Regions from separate parts of the Homo sapiens genome. Here region 2 is linked to region 1. Evidence: promoter capture Hi-C in 16 types of primary human blood cells and fetal thymus (Javierre and others, 2016). All regions are on one chromosome and are shown on one strand. The core of a region is centred on a gene start or on the middle of the fragment in contact, and the rest is flanking DNA. Distances in the headings are between cores, read along the strand shown.

Region 1 (4,407 bases), core at 1,325-3,824:
CTTTGAATTTATTATCAATTTAGCAAACAGGAAAGAACCTGAAAATGCCATCACAAACTGTGACTCTAAGAACAGTGGAGTTGTCAGGAACCCTGGAAGACCTTCTGCCCTATCATCCTCCACTTCACCAGCAAGGACACAGGCCCAGAGAGCAGAAGCCACTAGCCCAAAGCCCAAAGATTGGTGGCCAGGACCAAAGCTAGCTGTCCTGCCTCTGGTCCAGAGCTTCTCCACCAAAGCTTTTTGAGACCATCCATGCCTTTCTCCTAGAGACAGGTCAAATCCTAAATTACCATAGAGTGCCCTCTACAGCAAATCTATCTCCACATCCAGGGAAGGGTCTGGAGATAAGTTAGGATGACCTGATCATTATCAATGCTGCACAATAAAAACTTTCTTTCCTGGCCCTGCCCTTTCATTGTTTACAAAGAAAACCCTAGACTCTGCTATCTGTATTGAACTCTTATTTTAGAGAAGGGGAAAGAGAGGAACAGCTGAACAGTGCTTTGTTCTGCCAGGAAGAATTTGCTCATCCTTTCCCATAACTCCTACCCACTCCCCAATATGCCCAATCTCTTCCGAAAAGTATACAGAAACTCTCCAACTACAACAAATGAAAGCAGGTAGGAGAAGGAAAAGGCCAACAAGGCGGGTATCGTCCACAAGATGACAATACCCTCCCAACTCTTTACCCCACAGGGTAGACAGCAGTTCATTTCAGTTGCTAATTCCCTGCAGGGAAGTCGCCAAAGGAGTGGTCTCAGGGCCCTCCAGCTGAGAAATGTGCTCTCTGCAACCCCTGGAGAACTAACCCTTTCCTAACCATCTGCTCCAACAGTGCCTTGGGCAAAGGTGCCAACAGACCAACCCTTCCCTTCTTTCCCCTCAGGCCAAGAAAGAGACATCAGAGCTTGGTTGGCAAGGGGCTATTTAAGGCAGCATCCAGAGGGCGGGGCAGAAAACTGCTGGAGGCATCCTCCTCCTCCACCCCTCCCCCTCACAGCCCAAACACACGCCCCTCACTCTGTAGACAGCCATCTGCCTCATCGGTGTCTGAAGGCTGTAGATATGTCCATCATCTGTCTTCTGTCATTGATGCTGCTGACCCCTCTGTGTCCACCCCACTTTTAATCCAACCCTCCTCTCTTCGATCACCACCAAGATACCTTTCCAACCAAAACCACAGAATTGAATCTAAGCAGAGGAGCTCAAAACACAAGGAGAGTGAAGACAGCCAATCCATCCCCCGCCTCCACTTAAGAGGAAAAAAGGGCGCGGGGGGCTGGGCGGGGGGGGGGGTGTTGAGGGGAGAGATGGAGTCAGAGGCCTGACACGCCAGATAGGTTCCATGATGTCTCTAGATGAACCTCCCTCCTATTGACGATGAAACCAATTCCAGCAATTTCAGCAGGTCGGCCCTGTGACAACAGGGGCATCCCAACGCTCAGTGTTTAAAACAAAAATCCAAAGGCTCGCCCAGAACATGCTGGGAAAAACCGAGGACTGAACAAAACGAGCCATGCTCAGTGGGATCCCTTCTGCTTTTACGTAGCAATGTAATAGCGTAATAAATTCTTGTCTGCCTGGAGAAAGCATGCACTGGTGAATTTCAAAGCCATCTTACGACAGCGGATGCATGGGGATGCAGAATTCGACAGCACATTCCCCCATGAAGGAAACATAATGACTTCAAGCCTCTTTCCCCTCTATCTTGAATGGCGCTACCACGTATCAAGGAAGCCACATCGGAAAGCAGCGAGGTGGTAGCAGGGGATGCCCGGGGAATTCGGAGAAAGGAGTTGCTTGCTGTCCATGTCGGTGATGAGCTGCCTAGCAAGATGCTGTCAGCCACTCGGGGAGAAGAAGGGGCACGGGCGGCACGGGCAGGCGCCGTGTCCCCGGCGCATACTAGTCCCCGTTCATTCAGGCGGGTCCGGCCAACCGCGTCGTCCTTGCGCCCCTCCCGCCGCCCTCTCCAGGGGATGCTGATGAATGAACACACCTGAGATGCCTCCATCCCGCCGCTCGCTCCCTCCGCCTTCCTCTGGCTGCTGCAGAGGTGCCCCTCCTCGGTAGTTTCACTTTACAGCACAAACCCATTCGGGCTTTGATGTCTCCTCCACCCACCCAAATTGCAGCCACCCTGAGACGGGCGGACATTCTCTCCTAGCAGAGGCCATGATCGTACTACCCCACACCCACCAAAAAAGGAAATTTAAAAACCCCCAACCCTGGAAGCCCCCAGATCCTCCGCACCCTGGGGAACTTTCCTTGAAAGACTGGGGATTCGCCGAGCAGGCAGGATGGACGGTTCGGCCGCGAGGGACCACCGCTTTCCCTGTGCCCATGGGGGGATGCTCTGGGGGAGGGGGTCCCCCAAGTCCCTCCAACAGCTGGCCCTTTAAATGCGCCTCCTCCGAGCGCGGAACAAAGGCGCCGCCCGCGGGGGCCGAGCCGCGCACACCCCCGGCGCTGCCGCCGCCGAGCGGGCAAGCGCGGCCGGGCGGGCGAGCGCGGGCTTACCTTGCTGGTCGCCGGGCGGGCGGGCTGCGCGCGTCCGCCCCACTCGCACTACACGCTGCAGCTGGCCCCGCTCTGTTTTTCTGGGACTCAGCGCTGACTTCACCGACACTCCGCGGACAACCAATGGGCTGCGGTGCCCGCCCCCTCATTAGCATGCCTCTGGAACCGTCCACTCTGGCAGCGCCCGGCCAGCGGGCGGTGCCGGGGGCGGGGCCGGGCCCAGCCGTGACAGGAAGGGGCGTGTGCGCGGATGGGAGGCGAAGAAGTGTCCGGCGCCCGGCTCCTGGCATTGTGAGCCCGCCGGCCTCCGCCGGTAACGGGCGCGCGGGCCTAGTAACCCTTTCCGTCCTGGCCGGGCCGGACGCTGGCCTGGCGCGCCTTCTGGTCCTTCGGAAGGGTCGCCCACGGGGAGCTTGGAAGGAACCTTAGACGTAAAATAACAGTGATAAGTTATTTAACTCCTGGGCCTCAGTTTACCCATCTGTAAAATGGCATAATAGTCCGACTTCGTAAAATCTAGTGAAGATTAACATAGTTAACATAGGTGATGCATTTTGATCAGTTCCTGGCCGTCGTGCTACATAAACGTTTGCTGTTGTCATTCGTGTGCTCTGTACCAGCCAGTGTGCTTAATGCTTCCCGGATATTTCCTCATTTGATCCTCTTAGCCTGATAAGAGAGGAACGATTACTAATCCATATTTTTCTAGTGAGAAAACTGAAAATAATTACTATTTTTATGCAGGAAAACTGAGGTGTAGTTTAAGTGGCTTGTCCGAGGTCACACAGCAAGTGGTGCAACCAGGATTTGAACCCAGGCTCTGAGATTTCACTCATGCAACACACATATATTTAGAGGCTCTGTGGCAGTGCTGGACCCCAGTGTTAACTGCAGAGAACAAGACAGGCAAGGCCTTTTCCCTTAGGAAGCTTCCATTTTAGTGGAGACAAGTAAATAAATAAGATCCTCTACAATGTGAAAAGTAGAGTGCATACAATGCAACAAGGTCATTGCAAGTGGGGGGAAGGCACCGTGTTAGATGGGGTTCAGAGCTAACCACTGTGCTATGCCATTCTCCTGACCTCCTCTAGTCCCCCTCAGAGTTACAGAAAAGGAAACAGAGACAGGGATCAGAGTGGGGAATCTGCTGGCCCAAGGTCGCAGAGCCAGCAAGTACTGGTCTGGAACTTGCTCCCTCCATGCCCAGCTTCCCACATCCCTGAAGATAAGACACTCGCCCTTTGGGCTGAGCACAACTGATTTTTGTCAGCTGCCCTTGCAAGCATCTTCAGCCAGAGCACATTCTCAGTGAACAGGCTGTGGGTGGCAGGGTAAAGACTGGCCTTGATAACTGCACAGACTGATCGGAAACTCATCAGCAAAGATTCTTAGATGTCAGGGAACGGTGACAAGTCTTTGGTGACCACCTGGTGTCCTCTGCTGTGTATTAAAAAAAAAAAGAAGAGTCCTAGCCATCTGGAAGCTTACTCTATAAATGAGAAAACACTGGGGAACTACTCAACCTAGGGAGCCCCCAGCCCACGGCCTTCCCCTATCTGCACCTCATCCTGCAGCTTTTCAAAGAACACTTCCCCGGCTCTCCTATTTATTTACTCCACAATCTGTGTAAGACAGCTCTCTCTGGGCTATAAAGTAATAAAACAGCTAGTATTTATTGAGCACGTCTAGGCTGCTATGCACCGTACTATACTTGTGCTAAGAGCTTTACATGCGTTAACTCACATCCACCACACGACCCCAGGTGGGAATAGTGTCGTTATCCTGAGGTTATCCACAGAGGTGTATAACAAAGGGTAGAGAGACTAGTTACTTACCCAGCAAATTCAGGGCAACACCATTTTAGAATAGCCAAAAAAAAAAAAA
Region 2 (4,407 bases), core at 1,019-3,518, 190 kb before region 1:
AAAAAAAAAAAGCATCAAGTTTTTTCAAAAGTGATTTAAGAAAACAAACAAACAAACAAACAAACCCACAACACACTCACACTAACCAAGGCTAGAGAGCACACACAGTCCAACGGAGGAGGCACAGCGGAATTACCTTTCTATCCTCTCTAGGAAGGATAGAGCAGTCTCCAGGAGTATAATCCCATATCTTTTTGGGAGGCTGACGGGAAGCAGAGGAGGAAATGAAGAAATGAGCATAAAGACATAAAGACAAACATGGAGACTGGCTCAAACAAGGAGGGGTACACTGGGAGAACTGTATCAACACAGAAAGGTGAACTCAAAAGCAAGGGGAGTGGGTGCTGCCTACGGACACAAGGCTGCCTGCTGGAGCGGAAGCCTGAGGATTTGGGAGCTGGGACTGTTACCTAGGAAGTCTGTTTCTATGTCTATGTTTCAAGAGCAAATCATCGTTGGATTCTAAATATTGAAAACTTAAGAAAAGACGGGGGGGAAAAAAGAAAAAAAAAGCATTAACAAATTTGAACAAAAACAGAAACTTTTAAATTCCTCATTGTTCTCTTCAAACTAAGATTGACACTGAAGATTCCACATTTTTGAGGCAGTCTTCTGCTGTAAAATTCATTGTGTATTAACACATGTGTGAATCTAGAGGTTTGGTCAACAGACTGAACCAAATTTACTTTCTGTGGTTTGTAGCAAAGAAATTCATATATAAAATGGGTGTTAAATAGTACACTAGACAATTTCATACCAGTAGTTTTAAAACCTCCTTTTACAGTTTAACTAGACCTTGATAGTGGTAGAAACATACTTTTCATCCCCCTTAGAGAACAGAGTTTAAACCCAGAATTTAAAGAGGGGACTGTAAGGTTATTTTTGTTTTGTCTTTTAACTCTTCAAGTCAGATTTACAGCTGCATTCCTAAGACAGAAATTTGCCAAAAGATTGTTGTAAGTTTAATGAGGGAAGAGTCCAGCGGGTGGAACATTCAGAGGTTACAGGTGACTTCTAACTCTGGATCCTCTCTTCTACTTGTTCTGTCTATTTAGACTTGAATTTTCTTACATAATGACCCCTAGGGTGATAAGAAATAGGAGATCATTAATAGCTCCTAAAATTTTGTGCAAATTTCATTATAGCCAACTCCATGGAAGCATTCAAATTGGTTTACATTGTGAAATTTTGACTTGCTCTTACATATAGAAATCATGTCAATTTCTATAGAAATTAGAGGAAAACAACTCAGAAAAAAAACTGATTCCCAGGCTCTTTGTAATAAATCTGCAAATGAGAAGTAATCTGATTCCAAGGTGTGTTCACCACTGACAGCAACAGGTCAGTAATGTCATCTCTGCACATGTATATTCCGCATTTCATAAAGTAAGTGATATTACCAATTACCATTCATCTTTAAGCACTTAATACACTTGGACTGTTCATCTGCAGAAGTAGACTTTTTAAAGCCTAATGACTTACGATCATTTCTTTACTGCAATAAACAGGGCAGTGTTTACAAATTAAACTGGTTTTAAATAATCTGTCCAAAAATGGTCCCTGGAGTCTTGAACTATTTGCTATTCTAACAACTTGTTGGAGCTAAAAAGGTATCTTTTTAGTCAGGATCTTGCTGAAATTTCAGTTCATTTTGGGTGGCTAAAGCGAAGGGGTGGAGGAAGCAAGGAGTTCAGGGTAAATGTCTAGTGTCAAAGTTCTGGCAGGCTTTACTGGGGAAAGTGGTCCCCAGTTGGTGTGAGAAAAAAAAAAAGTAGAAATGCTGATTCCCATGATCTGGTAGGATTTTGATTCTGCTTCTGAATGGCTGAAAAGCTTTCCAAAACAGCTTCCATGGTTTATGCCACTTTTATTTATGTCTCTTACTCTTTTGTGGCAGAGTGGTTGCAGTAGGAAGTGAAGAAAAAATTTATCCTTACCACACCTTCCTCCCAAACCCTGTTAGTTCAACTAGGTAATAAGCCCACCATTAGGATGCCTCAGACCATAAGGAGCTGTTCATTTCAGGACTGTTCCTCAGGATATGGGCATTGATTTAGTTAATTTGGCAAGTCTTCACAAGTATTATCTTTTAAAGTAAGACCTACACAAAAAGAAGCAGTCTCATTAGAAGAACTCTGAGGCCTGTGCAAAGAATGCATGTGGCTTCAGAGAAAATGCTACTTTGAAAAAGCATCTCTGAGTCTTTAAATAATTAAGAGGTTGTTAGAGCAATGGGGTGGGGAGACAAGCTAGAGGAAAGCCCCAGTATACAACTGGACTGTGTTCTCAACATTTGTTTGAAGTTAGCTGTGTGGTACCTGGAGTGAAGTTTTTGGCAGCAATACTGTTAATTTATCAAGCTATGCATGGAGACTATTTAAATGTATGCTGGTATTAAAATACTATATATTATCCTCAAAAATTATTTGTAATGATAGATTTAGTAAAACAATCACAACTAATTAGGGAAAAAATTCCACCATTTTTCCTGAAAGCTAATATTTTAGATAAAACTAATTTAGTTGTTTGGCAGATGAGATGGGCAGAAATGTGTGGATTCTGAAACAGACTTGAAAAATCAACGGCATGGACTCTATTAAACATAACTTAATAGCTTTTGCTTTCCTTGACTAAAGTATGGCATTATTGTTTCATATACCAATCATGGTCTGTTTTGGGGGTGGGGAGACAACTACACACAGCAAAAGCTTTTTTCGGTGACATAATTGACCAGGTTTTAAGAAAAGGAGAAAAGAGAAAGGGTTAGGATACTGTTAAATACTGCACGTGGAAAAGATTGCCTGAGGTAGATTTAACTGATGTCTGAATGGTGAACAGCAGAGGCGAAAAAAAGAAAGGAGAGAAAGGAGAAGAAATGAGGTGTGCACCAATGCTTTGGGGAGGGGAGAAGGAGGGTGCAGACTTTGGGTCAGATGCGTCCCTCTCCACTGGTCACTAGGTGGCGCTGTTCATCCAGGACAGCTCAGCTGCTATCGGGAGACAGTGTCTAGGAGGGACCAGAAGAGAGGAACAAGCAGGCTGTTTGCAAGTCTGGTGCTCTTAACTCAGAAGATGCCTGAACTTTCAAAGCTCAGCACTGCCAAATCAAAGAGCAATTCCTAAGCACCAACTTAATTTCTCTTTGTCTTTGTTTTAATAAAAAATTTTAAAACATTTTATTTACTCAACTATAAAATACATTCCTGTCTGCAAATAAAACTATCATCCCAGACCACAGAAACTCAAAAGCTGGATCCAATGCATAAAGTCTCATACAATCATTGAATAAAATGTGTTTATACACTTAACTCCTCTACCTGTAAATTCTTTTTGCAGCTGTAATAATTAAGACTTTAAAATAACTAGAGTTTTAAAGTCAGTTTCGTTATCTCTAGAGGAAGGATGAGCTCAATTCTCCCTTCTATTTTATATTCCTTTGGGTGCAAGGCTAAGAAAATCCTCCTTTAAGTGCCAAAAGTCAATTTGTACCAAAGCCAATTCAGAGATATCATGGGGCAACTGTAGGCTGAATACTAAAGATGCTAGAATTCCTTACTCCCATTTCAAACTTTGGGAAATATCCTACATCATAGAAATCATTCCCTAAAAGTCACCTATAATGGGGTTGCATTTGTGGGTCACATCTGCACAAAGAGGTCCTTGTTGGCCTGCTCTGGGACTTCATTTACATATGTGCTTTTAAAAATGCTATTTAAAGCAGAGACAATGCTGGTCTTCTCAGTGTGTAACACATTTTCAGCTTGTCTTTCACAGACCATAAAGACTTTGGTCAAGGAAGTGAAAACAATGGCTGAAATAATGCCATCCGCAAGGCATGTGGTACTTGTTGTTAGTGGGGGGAGGTCTAAGACAAGCAATGATTATTTGTGTTTCTCTGGGATATTCCAGCAAGATATACTTCCAGAGCTCACTATCCTTTCTCAGTGAAGTAAGGCAAAAGAAAGCTCAGAGGTTGTAGTGAGAAGAGACAATCCCACTACGGACAACCAACATGACTGCTCCCCACTTTCTGAATTCCTTACAAACATCTGATTCTTTAGCAGCAACAACGCATCCACAGCATTAGTTTAAAAGGTGTATAACCACTGAAGCTATTAAACTTACCGGTTTCCCAAACTCCAATTCCGAAAAGAATTTATACCAAGGTTCATTCTTTAAATCTATCTCTTCTGGGCTTATATCCCGACTCTATAGGGGTTGGTGATAGAGAAATGGAAGAAAGAGAAGGATAACATTATGCAAAGATTACATAGGAACAGGCCAGTAGAGATGCAGTGGTTTCCAGGTATATACAGGAGCTGCATTCAACAGCAGCAATCATCTGTTTTTACTGACAACAGCAAAAACAGGAGGGAGAGGATGGGTTTATAAAAACAGGGAAATTGA

The links. Contacts are between HindIII fragments. The CHiCAGO score rates a contact against its expected background, and 5 or more counts as called.
Region 2: a contact is called between a fragment that was not itself captured here and the fragment with the promoter of SORBS1 in region 1, in 2 of 17 cell types (M2 macrophages and M0 macrophages). The highest score is 7.4, in M2 macrophages.

The regions. Positions count from the first base shown.
Region 1 is chr10:95,558,797-95,563,203 of GRCh38, forward strand. SORBS1 (sorbin and SH3 domain containing 1) reads right to left here and starts at 2,575. Exons shown (of 33, transcript NM_001034954.3): 1 at 2,524-2,575. RefSeq lists an enhancer at 2,158-2,920 and silencers at 2,405-2,514, 2,555-2,924. The HindIII fragment of the contact is 3,213 bases long and covers 238-3,450 here.
Region 2 is chr10:95,371,848-95,376,254 of GRCh38, forward strand. SORBS1 (sorbin and SH3 domain containing 1) reads right to left here. Exons shown (of 33, transcript NM_001034954.3): 19 at 4,126-4,209; 20 at 137-202. Among named protein-coding and RNA genes, the nearest start is that of PDLIM1, 83 kb to the left of the region's middle. The HindIII fragment of the contact is 875 bases long and covers 1,832-2,706 here.